Regions from separate parts of the Homo sapiens genome. Here region 2 is linked to region 1. The links are contacts of gene promoters, found by promoter capture Hi-C in human tissues and cell types (Jung and others, 2019). All regions are on one chromosome and are shown on one strand. The core of a region is centred on a gene start or on the middle of the fragment in contact, and the rest is flanking DNA. Distances in the headings are between cores, read along the strand shown. Region 1 holds the start of DIP2B (disco interacting protein 2 homolog B). Region 2 has its middle 4.3 kb from the start of FKBP11.

Region 1 (6,358 bases), core at 2,066-4,565:
AATTTCAGTCACAGAAATACTTGCAGAAACCTTCTACCTATTCAACTCGTCTATAGAAAAGCTCATCCTTATGTGGAAATTCAGTTTTTAAATGATTTCCAGGCAGTTTCAGCCTGTTCTTTTTGTGACAGAAGCAGGTTTTAACCAGGAAGCTGCCTGGTGACCTGCCTGAAGCACCAGACACATCACAGGGCTCTGCAACACGCTCTGCAGCAAAGAGCCCAAAGCAGGCACAAACCTGCATTTCAGCACAGAGTTGGCTGATCTATTACCAAAGCCTGCAGCTGAAAATACAGGCAAGCACAAAGAAAATTCTTTAACAGCATACAGCTCAGATTATTGCTATGATTAGGACCAATGACAGGCTGAACCTTAAAAAAAAAAAGAGAGAAAGAAAGAAAAAATGAAAATAGAGAAATGAGTGCACCAATGTCAGCAAGGCATGATAAACACACAGTTAAAAGCATCTTTAGCGGTGGCTCACGCCTGTAATCCTAACACTTTGGGAGGCTGAGGTTGGTGGATCATTTGAGGTCAGGAGTTTAAGATCAGCCTGGCCAACACGGTGAAACCCGGTCTCTACTATAAATACAAAAAAAATTAGCCCGGCAGTAGTGGCGCTTGCCTGTAATCCCAGCTACTGGGGAGGCTGAGGCAGGAGAACTGCTTGACCCTGGGAGGCGGAGGTTGCGGTAAGCTAAAATCGGGCAACAGTGTGAGACTCCATCTCAAAAAAAACAAACGAAAGAAAAGCATCTAAAACAAAAAAAGACAAAGTACTTATGTTAGAGCAGAGTAACTGTAGAGAAAATGCAAAACGAACAAACCTTAGCTCCAAATATGCTACAGGCATCACAAATAACACCATACTACACAGATATGGGGACTTTTGGATTATTTTAACTTCACTTGAATTCCTAATGTCTATCCACTTCTCCAGCCAACCATCCCCTGTACTTTAAGCAAGAAAGATGACCAATATGCTGACACTGCAGGCCCAAGTTTTTCAATTGTATTTTTTCCAGTCATCCATTGCTAAAACAAATGAAATACAAGAAGTGTAGTATATCTATAAGAAACAAATTCAAACCAAGTCAGATGCCAACCAAAATAATCCTTCATTGGAAAGCAAACCATGCACTTGTCCTTAAAATGTTTAAGCCTTGGCATTCACAATTTGTAGAAGTTTCACACCTTTCTGAAGGAGAGAGAGGTGAGCTAATCAGTGTGGGTCCTAGAAATAGTTCCTCAGAATGTTTCTAGACATTCTAGAGATGTCTAGAAACACCCAGAGATGTAAACAACAATCAGCTGGAAGCAGATATACCCAGAATAAGGAGCTTCCAGGATTTCCCTCTCCGTGTGAAAGCAATCAACTCCTATTTTTAATCTCCCTCTGACGCAAGCATCCAGGCAAACCTCTCTCTAATCAAAGCTAGATGATTTGTTACTTTCAAATAGCAGTTTTAAAAGTCAGATTTTAATGCAAGTCAACACAGATTTAATGTCAATGCTTTAGTCTAGGAGAAGAATGAGTTATCTTGAGAGACAGAATTGATGGTAATGCAAAAAGCTCCTCGATTTTCGAAGCGGGGGGAACTTAAGGTATAACTGGGCAGACAAACCCAGAGGATTCCTATCTTCTTAAACACTTCACAGAAACAAACTAATCTAATACCAGTGATTCCCGGGACTGGCCGAAGAATAACTTGAAAATTGGATTAATTGAAAAATAACATGTTGATAGTTAAGTACAGGTAAAAACAGCACTTTCCTACACATTGGGTTATTAAAAGGGTTATTAAAAATAATTATTTCCTTCAGTGCCCAACAGGATTTATAACATTCAACTCTATTTTTGGTTTTTCATTGTAAAGGATTCTCAGAGGGGAGGGAACCATAATGCCTTAATAAGTAAACAATAAGTAATGTTTAATAAGCTCCTGGGAGTTGGTCACATTCTTCTTTTCCAATCAAGAGTTTTTGATCCACTTGAAAAATGCTAGTGAAGAGGGCCTTCCACAAGGAACTCAGTAAGAATATGCAACTCTGGAGACACAATCAAAGTACTGGTATCAAGCTTGGAGAAAATGCTGCTTTTGTCTCAGGGGCAGCCAGTGATAAAAACAGGAACTTTACACAGAACTGATCACAACTGCCCCAGAAGCCTGATCACATGCCCACAACGGAGCACTGTGTTTCTCTCATTGTTGTACAAGGAGTTCTCTAATAACAGTGGCTTGATTTATCCCATTTTTTTTTTTTAATTCTGAAAATAAATCGAACCCTCCCTGTCCCAATCCATTGTCAAAAGAAAGAATGCCAGCCAGGATTTGCAAGTAAACGGTAGCCTCCTCTCCTTCCTTCATCAAAGACTCCAAAAGGTGACCAGATGCGGAAAATTCGGCCCGAATAACAGGCACCAGGAAAAAAAAAAACTTCTTATGACAAAGGTGGTCTAAAAGCAGCACCGTGTGTCTCTCTGGGTTAATGCCATTGCTTCTTATCTTCCTAGGACCCTAAATGGCTCACCCGCTTGTGTCTCACTCCTGTCACTGGGGAGGCATCGCGCATTGTTAAAGGAAAGAGAAGAAATGATGCTGCGGATTTCCCATGTGTCTCTTTTTGAAAGGGGGAAGGGGGGGCTGGAACAAGGCGTGGAGCCCTCCACGAAAAGGGGAGAGGAAAGGAGAAAGCTGTCAGCCACCCTCCTCGCAGCCCTACCCCTCACCCCACCTGGGCCAGACGCCTGGGCAGAAGCGGGAGGGCGCAGCTTTGTCTCGGGTTTTGGGGGGCAGGAAGCGCAGAAGCAGTGTGGGCCCGGGAGGACCTTTCCACAAGCCCTTACTTAGTCCCCTCCATGGGAAAACAATGAAAGCCACAGGAAACCACTTAATGGGGTGGGAGAGGAGGGAAAACGGTCGTGGAGCGCCAGGCCAGGTTCTCTACACCCTCGTCCCCCTCGCCGCACGGCCGCCAGAGCGCGCGGCGGGGACCTGTCTCCCAAGTCGCCGCGATCCGCAGGGCCCCGGGCGCCCTCTCCCCGGCCCGGCTCCTACCCTCCGAGAGCTCCAGCTCCAGCTCCGCCAGCTGCGCCCGCACTTCAGGCGGCAGCGCCGCCACCGCGGCCGGCGACGGCTCCAGGCCTCGTTCCGCCATCCCAGCTCCGCCAGCCACACTCCGGAAGACAAGAGAGGGGGCCGAAGGAGGGACGGACAGACACGGGCCCACACCCGGCTACAGGATCCGGCTCCGGCCGCCGAGCACCACCAGCACCGCCGCCGCCGCCGCCGCCGCCATGAGCAAAGGTCACGTGAGCGCGACGGCCCCCGCCCCCCGGCCAGGAGGACGCACCGCCTCTCCAGCCCAGTCAGGCTGAAGACGCATATGCTTACGGCGCCCTCTACTGGGAAGCTACCAGAACGACGGGCCCAAGCCCACCACTCGAATTTCCCTGCGCGAAATGGGCTCATGGTATGGACTGTCGGCTTTACCACAGTAGTGTGGACACATAGCATTTACCTTTCACTCTCGAGCAAGTTTTTAGGGGTCCCAGGCCTTACTTTTTCCAATACTAGACTTAGCAATGTATGTCTATCGTGTCCTTTACTCCATTTTCCCTGATTAATACCTGCCCATTTATAAAAACCTAATCACAGGCCACCTCCTTCGCTGTGGCTCCTGGTCCTATCTGCCAGGAGCTCTGTTTCCGTTTCAGTTTTAGCTTTTAAAAAGACAGGCGCGGTGGCTCTCGCCTGTAATCCTAGCACTTTGGGAGGCTGAGGCTGGTGGATCACCTGAGGTTAAGAGTACCAGGCTAGCCGACCGGGCGCGGTGGCTCACGCCTGTAATCCCAGCACTTTGGGAGGCCGAGACGGGTGGATCACGAAGTCAGGAGATCGAGACCATCCTGGCTGACACGGTGAAACCCCGTCTCTACTAAAAGTACAAAAAATTAGCCGGGCGTGGTGGCGGGCGCCTGTAGTCCCAGCTACTCGGGAGGCTGAGGCAGGAGAATGGCGTGAACCCGGGAGGCGGAGCTTGCAGTGAGCCAAGATCACGCCACTGCACTCCAGCCTGAGCGTGAGCGCGAGACTCCGACTCAAAAAAAAAAAAAAAAGAGTACTAGGCCAGCCTGGCCAACATGGTGAAACCCCGTCTCCAATAAAAATACAAAAATTAGCCGGGCGTGGTGGCGGATGCCTGTACTCCTAGCTACTCAAGAGGCTGAGGCAGGAGAATCACTTGAACCCAGGAGGCAGAGGTTACAGTAAGCTGAGATCGCGTCATTGCACTCCAGCCCGGGCAAGAGAGCAAACACTCCGTCTAAAGAAAAGAAAAAGACAATAGAGAGCAGGTCCACTTCTTTCTTTCTATACTTCTAACTACTTACAAGGAGGGAACTTACTTTAACTCATCCTCCTCACTCTGTGGCCTAATAGGTGTTCCAAAAACATTAATTTTAATTTAATATGAAGAGGGTCCAAGGCTAGGTGCAGTGGCTCACACCTATGATCCCAGCACTTTGGGAGGCCAAGGTGGGCGGATCACCTGAGGTCAAGAGTTCGAGACCAGCCTGGCCAACATGGCGAAACCCCGTCTCTACTAAAAACACAAAAATTAGCCGGGAGTAGTGGCACATGCCTGTAATCCCAGCTACCTGGGGGAGCTGAGGTAGGAACGTCGCTTGAACCCGGGAGGCCAAGGTTACAGTGAGCTGAGAACATGGCGGCTGCGCTCCAGCCTGGGCAACGCAGTGAAACTGTTTCAAAAAAAAAAAAAAAAGTCAAGGCCGGGCGTGGTCGCTCACATCTGTAATCCCAGCACTTTGGGAGGCCGAGGCAGGCAGATCACCTGAGGTCAGGAGTTGGAGATCAGCCTGACCAGTATGGTGAAACCCCGCGTCTACTAAAAATACAAAAATTAGCTGGGCATGGTGGCATGTGCCTGTAATCCCAGCTACTCGGGAGGCTGAGACAGGAGAATCGCTTGAACCCGGGAAGTGGAGGTTGCGGTAAGCCCAGATTGCACCACTGCATTCCAGCCTGGGCAACAAGAGCGAAACTCCGTCTCAAAAAAAAAAAAAAAAAAAAAGGAAAAACTGGATGAAGCATACACAGGAATTATCTGTACTATCTTTGCAACTTTTCAGTAAATTTAAAACCATTCTAAAGTAAAACATTTATTTAAAATTATAGAAGCTTAGAACAAACTTGAGAGATCCTCCTACCTCAGCCTCTCAAAGTGCTGGGATTACAGGCATAAGCCACCTCATCCAGCCTTTACTGCATTCTTCCACCAAATTATTCTACCTTTTTGCTAGATTATTCCTTATATTCTCTTTATTTCTAATTGTTTATTCTTTACCTTAATCTTTTTGTCTAGATATTATTGTTGTACCAGCCTTTTTAATTACTACTTGCTGACTTTTTTTAGTCTTTTATTTTCAACTTTTGTCTGTGACTCTGGTTGTAACAAATTAATTAAATCCATTTAAGTTCATTTAATATAATTACTGATATATTAGGACTTATTTCTTCATTCTTGTTAAATGTTTTCTGTTTATCAATCTCTGTCTTTGCTTTCTTCCCCCCCTTTTTCTCCTATTGTTGAATTAGTAAAGTGTTAGATAGTACTTCTTTGTTCTTCTGGTTTGGAAGGTACAGATTATACTGCTATTCTTTCTGTGACTATTTTAAAAGTTTAACATTAAATTTTTCTCCGAGGCCAGGTGTGGTGGCTCATGCTTTTGGAGAAAAACTTTTAAAAATTAACAAACAAAAATATACTATGTTTATACTGTGTCACCGTTTTTTTTTTTTTTAGACAGAGTCTCGCTCTGTCACCCAGGCTAGAGTGCAGTGGCGCAATTTCAGCTTACTACAACCTCTGCCTCCCGGGTTCAAGCGGTTTTCCTGCCTCAGCCTCCCAAGTAGCTGTGATTACAGGCACCGGCCACCATGCCCGGCTAATTTTTGTATTTTTAGTATTTTTAGTAGAAATGTGGTTTCACCATGTTGGCCAGGCTGGTCTCGAACTCCTGACCTCAAGTGATCCACTGGCCTCAGCCTCCCAAACTTCTGGGATTACAGGCGTGAGCCACCGCACCAGCACCTTTACCAGTGCTGTTTATTTCTTCGTGTGAACTCAGGCTATTGTCTAATAATCTTTCATTTCAGGCTGAATGGCTCACATTGCGGGGCAAGTGACAAATTCAGTTGTTGTTTATCTAGGAATGTCTGCATTCTCCATCATTTTTCTTTTTTTCTTTTTTTTTCTTTTTTTTTTTTTTTTTTTTTTTTGAGACGGGGTCTTGCCCTGTCACTCAGGCTGGGGTGCAGTGGCACCATGTTGGCTT
Region 2 (6,358 bases), core at 2,379-4,878, 1.6 Mb after region 1:
AAAACCCTGGCTATCTATGCAGAGGGCTGACCAGTTCTACCCATGTACCCTTCCTTCCCTCACCCTTCCTCACAAACCAGGCATATTGAGAGCTGTCTGGCAGTCAATCCAGGCGAGGCAGCAGGTTTGAGAATGGGCTTGTCCGCCTGGCACCTGCTTCCCCCCACTTCCACCTTCACCCCTCCATCCCATATATCGTTCAGGGTCCTCCCAGCACAGAATTGAATAGAAGGACTTTTAAGGCTTGGAGGGCTTAGCTTGGGGCTCTAACCCACAGGAATTCTTTCTGAGTTCTGAATATAGTAATAAAGGGCACTCTTGGCCTTAGGTTATAGATAGGAGATGGGGAATCTGTTCTTGTCTTTGCCAAATCTTGCATTTATGGGATGATACCTCTTTGATTAGAACAGCCATAGGGGAAGAGTGGAGGAAGTAAGTAAGTGCTTCATTCTTGGATGAATATATGCATAAACATACCTGAAAGAAAACATCTAGTCAGCTGGGGGTATGTATACCCTTGAAAATACAACACCAGGCCAGGCATGGTGGCTCAATTCTATAACCTCAACACTTTGGGAGGCTTAGGTGGGAGGATAGCTTGAGCCCAGGAGTTTGAGATCAACCTGGGCAACATGGTGAGGCCCCATCTCTATAAGAAAAAAAAAAAAAAAAAAAAAAAAAAAAATATATATATATATATATATATATATATATATATAAATATATGTTTATATGATATATATACAATTATATGTTTATATTATATATATATATATATTTTTACTTTTATTTAAAAAAAATAGAGATGGGATTTCACTATGTTGCCCAAGCTGGTTTCAAACTCCTGGGCTCAAGCAGTCCTCCCACCCCAGCCTCCCAAAGTGCTGGATTTACAGGCATGAGCCATTGTGCCCGGCCAAAAAAAAATGTTTTTAATTAGTTGGGCATGGTGGCACGTGCCTGTGGTCCCAGCTACTCAGGAGGCTGAGGCAGGAGGATTGCTTGAGCCTGAGAGATTGAGGCTGCAGTGAGCTGTGTTTGCGCCACCGCACTGGTGACACAGCAAGACCCTGTCTCAACCAAAATCAAATTTTAAACCCAAATTTATATATGCCAACTCAGGCTTTTACTTTATTAACAACCTGTTATAAATAAACACTTAAGAACATTTAAAGAGCAGTGTTCTGCTTATTCTTTGGCACATAATAGTCATGCAACCTTGATGAACAAATGGATGAATTAATAAACACCATTGTCTTTAATCAAGCTGGGCATGGTGGGTGCCCCATGAGTCTTGGAAGCCCAGGTACTGTGGTAGGGTTTCTCCTACACACTGACAGAGACACCTTTGAGTGTGGAGGCTTTTCTAGCAATGGTTCTGTGATTAAGTTGTATCTCCAGCCAGGGGTGGGCCAACTCTCCTATCTTTCCAAGAATCATCTCACCTTTCTCTGTTGTTTGGATTTCTTCTAACTTGATCCAAGGAAAAAGCTCCTTCTCTGGTCCCTCCAGGGTGCAGATGGGCTTGTGCTGCCTGTGGGTGGATATTGTGTTTAATAGTTTTGCCCTTTCCATTTCTACTACCACCTTCTCCTACTCCACTCCTCTTCCCCTTCAGGTTCCTGAACAGAGCCTCAGACCTGGATAAGACAATAGCCTTCCACCTTCACCACACTGTTCGAGTCTGCTGATACATCAGTGCAGTATGCTGTGTCATCCTTTTGCTTAGAAACTTGCAATGTGTTCCCACTGCCTTAGTCTGACATTCAAGGTTCTTCACAACTAGCCTTTTTTTTTTTTTTTTTTTTTTTTTTTTTTAAGCTGGAGTCTCGCTCTGTCGCCCAGGCTGGAGTGCAGTGGCGCGATCTCGGCTCACTGCAAGCTCCGCCTCCTGGGTTCACGCCATTCTCCTGCCTCAGCCTCCCGAGTAGCTGGGACTACAGGTACCCGCCACCACGCCTGGCTAATTTTTTGTAATTTTAGTAGAGACGGGGTTTCACCGTGTTAGCCAGGATGGGTCTCGATATCCTGACCTCGTGATCCGCCCGCCTCGGCCTCCCAAAGTGCTGGGATTACAGGCGTGAGCCACTGCACCCGGCCTACAACTAGCCCTTAATTCCCTCTCCAGCCACCTCTCTCTAGTCTCTGGCCAAATCCCTTACTTTAGCCAAATCAGTCCATTCATTTTTCCCAAACATCTGGCCCTCTGCCTTCACCTCCTTTCTCACTTGTTTAAAAATCCCACTCCAAGATCTAGCTCAAGTTTCACCTCCTCCACAAAGCTGCCTGTGCCCTCTGCAACTACAAGGACTTTTATAGTTTTTCCCCACGTTGGCTCCTTTAGCTCTGTTAGCACAACTCATTTAACACCTCCCACTCATTCCCTTGTATTGCTATATATCTTGTTTATTCGTGTAATATTTAATATTAAAAATTATTTTTATAACCTGAGAAGTAACATCTGAGCAGGAAAAAAATTATAACCAAAGTAATTTCTATTGTAAAAGATCCAAACAATACAAAAATATACAGAGCAACATGTGGGACATTGCCCTTACTCTTCTCTCTCCCATGCCCAAACGTAACCATCCTCAGCTATTTGATGTGCATCCTTCTAGTTCCTTTTTTAAATGTATGTGCTGACACATGTTTGTGGAGGGGTTAAAATATAAATGGGCTCATATCACATCTGTTATTCTGCTACTTGCTTTTTTACTTAGGGTATATATACATTTGTCTTAGAGATTTTCTATATTAGTGTAATTAGATCTCCTTTTAATGGCTTCTCAGTATTTCATAGTATAATTTCTTCAAAGTAAAACATACTGTCTAGAATCTATTATTTGGAGGCTATCGTGTAGCTAGTACTTAGCTCCAGACATGATTGCAACCTTGACCTTGCCATCAGTTAGCTGGCTCTTTGGGGGAGATAGGAAGGGAGGAATGGGGCATACACAAATAACTGCAACAAAAGGAAAAATATAATAATGTCCACAAGTGTATGCCTGGAGATCCTAGCTAAGAGAATCAGGACTTCACAGAGGAAATGATATTTGAGCTTAGCCTGGAGGGAGCTTGACAGGTAAAAGAAGTGTATGAGTTCAGGCACAGAGATGGAAACAGAAGATGTAGGTTTGTCTGATGCCAGACCACAGTCCATGAGCAGGAAGGGAATTTGGCTCAATTCACAAACATTTACTGAGCATTGATGTGTCAGACACTATACTAGCAATGAAGATTTAGAAATGAGAAACATGAGGTTCCTGTCTCTAAGAGGGATTCAGTTTAATGGAATAAAAGCCAAGTTTGGAAAAGCAGATTAGGGCTGGATGACAAGCTTTCAGTTGTCATGTCAAGGAGTTGGAATTTTATTCACGTGGGCAATGTGAAGCCATGGTAGGCTTTTTAGTGGGCAGATGATGGGACTGAAACTGTAGATAGCAGCAGTGTACACAGTGGTCCAAAGTAGGGAGAGGCTAGGGATCAGGGGCTTATTATTTTTTGAGACAAGGTCTCTGTCACCTAGGCTGGAGTGCAGTGGCGTGATCATGGCTTACTGCAGCCTTGACCTCCTGGACGCAAGTGATCCTCCCACCTTAGCCTCCTGAGTAGCTAAGACCACAGGTGCACACCACCATACCTAGCTAATCGTTAAATTATTTGTAGAGATAGGGTCTTGCCATGTTGCCCAGGCTGGTCTTGAACTCCTGGCCTCAAGCAATCCTCCTGCCTCAGCCTCCCAAAAATGTTGGGATTACAGGTGTGAGCCACCACACCAAGACTTTTTTTTTTCTTTTCTTAAACAAGATAGAAGTTTAAAGGCCGGGCGCGGTGGCTCACGCCTGTAATCCCAGCACTTTGGGAGGCCGAGGCAGGTGGATCTTGAGGTCAGGAGATCGAGACCATCCTGGCTAACAGTGAAACCCCGTCTCCACTAAAAAAAAAAAATACAAAAAGTTAGCTGGGCGTGATGGCGGGCGCCTGTAGTCCCAGCTACTTGGGAGGCTGAGGCAGGAGAATGGCGTGAACCCGGGAGGCGGAGCTTGCAGTGAGCCGAGATTGCACCACTGCACTACAGCCTGGGCAACAGAGTCAGACTCTGTCTCAAAAAAAAAAAAAAAAAAAAAAGATAGAAGTTTATTTCTGCCTCAGTTAAAAGGTGTCTGGGGGCCGTGCATGGTGGCTTACACCTGTGATCCCAGCACTTTGGGAGGCTGAGGCAGGCAGATCACTTGAGGTCAGGAGTTCAACACCGGCCTGGCCGACATGGTGAAACCCCATCTTTACTAAAAATACAAAATTAGCCTGGTGTGGTGGCACACACCTGTAGTCCCAGCTACTCTGGAGGCTGAAACAGGAGAATTGCCTGAACCTGGGAGGTGGAGGCTGCAGTGAGCCAAGATCACAGCATTACACTCCAGCCTGGGCAAGACAGAGTGAGACTTTGTCTCAAATAAATAGACAAATAATAAATACACAAAAATTAGCCAGATATGCTCGCTTGAACTCAGGAGGCGGAGGTTGCAGTGAGCCGAGATCATACCACTGCACTCCAGCCTAGGCAACAGAGCGAGACTCGGTCAAAAGAAAAAAAAAAAGGTGAGCTGGGCGTGGTGACTGATGCCTGTAATCCCAGCACTTTAAGAAGCCGAAGGGGGCAGATCACTTGACTCCAGGAGTTCGAGACCAGTCTGGGCAATATGGCGAAACCCCATCTCTACAAAAAATTTAAAAATTAGCCGGGTGTGGTGGCATGCCTCTGTGGTCCCAGCTACTTGGGAGGCTGAGGCAGGAAAATCACTTGAGCCCAGGAGGCAGAGGTTGCAGTGAGCCAAGATTACACAACTATACTCCAGCCTGGATGACAGAGACCCCCATCTCAAAAAAAAAAAAAAAAAAAAAAGGTATCTGGCAGCTGGTCTGAAGATAGGCATCTCAATTGTTCACGGCCAGTTACAGATTGAACTACTCTTTCCCCCTTCTCACTACTGCACTTGACTAGTCTTTTTTTTTTCCCCCACAAAGAATGGGGCTTCAGATAGAACTGAAAAATAAAAGTGTCTGGTGGTAGGCAATCCAGAGCTGGCATGGTGGCTCTGCAATTAACAAGGACTTATGCTTCTTTTTGCTTCACCATCCTAGCGTGCAGCTTCCATCCTCATGGTCATCTCATGGTCTAATATGGCTTCTAGAGCTTAATTCATCTCATCTGCATTCCAGATAGCAGACAGAAGGAAGGAAAGATGATTAGGGGGAGAGAGAGCAGCACAGAAGGACGCTTTCTAGTTAACTCTTTAAAGGGCCTTCTTGGAAGTCCAGGACAATACTTCCAACACTTCTGTTTATGTTCTCTTGGCCAGAACTTAGTCAACTGGCCATATCCAGCTTTAAGGGAGACTTGGAGTTTTGTGGTTTTTTTGTTTAACTTAAAAAATATCTTGATACGTAATTCGCAAACAGTGAAATGCACAGATTGTAAGTATACAGTTTGATAAGTTCTGACAAATGCATACACCCATGTAACCCACATCCTTCTGAAAATATAGAGCATTTCATCACCCCTAGAAATTCCCTCCTGCTGAGGGGACTTTTTTTTTTTAAACAATACAAATGAGAGATAATGAAGGCTTCTTATCCTGAGGTGGGAGGGTTGTAGCTATGGGAATGGAAGGGAAGAGCTGGAGAGACTTTGGAAGGAGAATCCAGAGTAGACCCGTTGGATGTGGGAGATGAGAGAAGAACGAATGCTGGTAGCAGAGCCACTAACAGAAACAGGAGATAGGGAGGAAGTCTAGGTTGTTGCAGGTGGATTGGAAGAATGAGTACAGTTAAGACTGTTGGCTGGGCGCATTGGCTCACGCCTGTAATCCCAGCACTTCGGGATGCTGAGGCTGGCGGATCACGAGGTCAGCAGTTTGAGAGCAGTCTGGCCAACATGGCGAAACCCCATCTCTACTAAAAATACAAAAATTAGCCAGGCGTGGTGGTGGGTGCCTATAATCCCAGCTACTCGGGAGGCTGAGAGAAAAGAATCGCTTGAACCCGGGAGGTGGAGGTTGCAGTGAGCCAAGATCGTGCCATTGCACTCCAGCCTGGGCGACAAGAGTGAAACTCCGTCTCAACAAACAACAACAACAAAAACTTTTAAAAAGTGGGCTGGGCGTGGTGGCTCATACCTGTAATCCCAGCACTTTGGAAGGCCGAGGTGGGTGGATCACTTGAGGTTGGGAATTCGAGACCAGCCTGACAGACATGGAGAAACCCTGTCTTTACTAAAAATTCAAAATCAGCTGGGCATGGTGGCGCATGCCTGTAGTCCCAGCTACTCGGGAGCAGAGGTTGCGGTGAGCCAAGATCG

Evidence for each region. The method cuts DNA at HindIII sites, captures the fragments that hold promoters and counts their contacts. A contact is called where the count stands out against the background at its distance.
Region 2: a contact is called between a fragment that was not itself captured here and the fragment with the promoter of DIP2B in region 1, in 1 of the 25 tissues and cell types used here (bladder).

The regions. Positions count from the first base shown.
Region 1 is chr12:50,501,942-50,508,299 of GRCh38, reverse strand. It overlaps DIP2B (disco interacting protein 2 homolog B), which reads right to left and starts at 3,315. Exons shown (of 38, transcript NM_173602.3): 1 at 3,060-3,315. The coding sequence starts at 3,159. RefSeq lists a silencer at 2,903-3,012. The HindIII fragment of the contact is 9,488 bases long and covers 1-6,358 here.
Region 2 is chr12:48,926,589-48,932,946 of GRCh38, reverse strand. It overlaps a transcript of FKBP11 not described here. Among named protein-coding and RNA genes, the nearest start is that of FKBP11, 4.3 kb to the right of the region's middle. The HindIII fragment of the contact is 4,385 bases long and covers 1,436-5,820 here.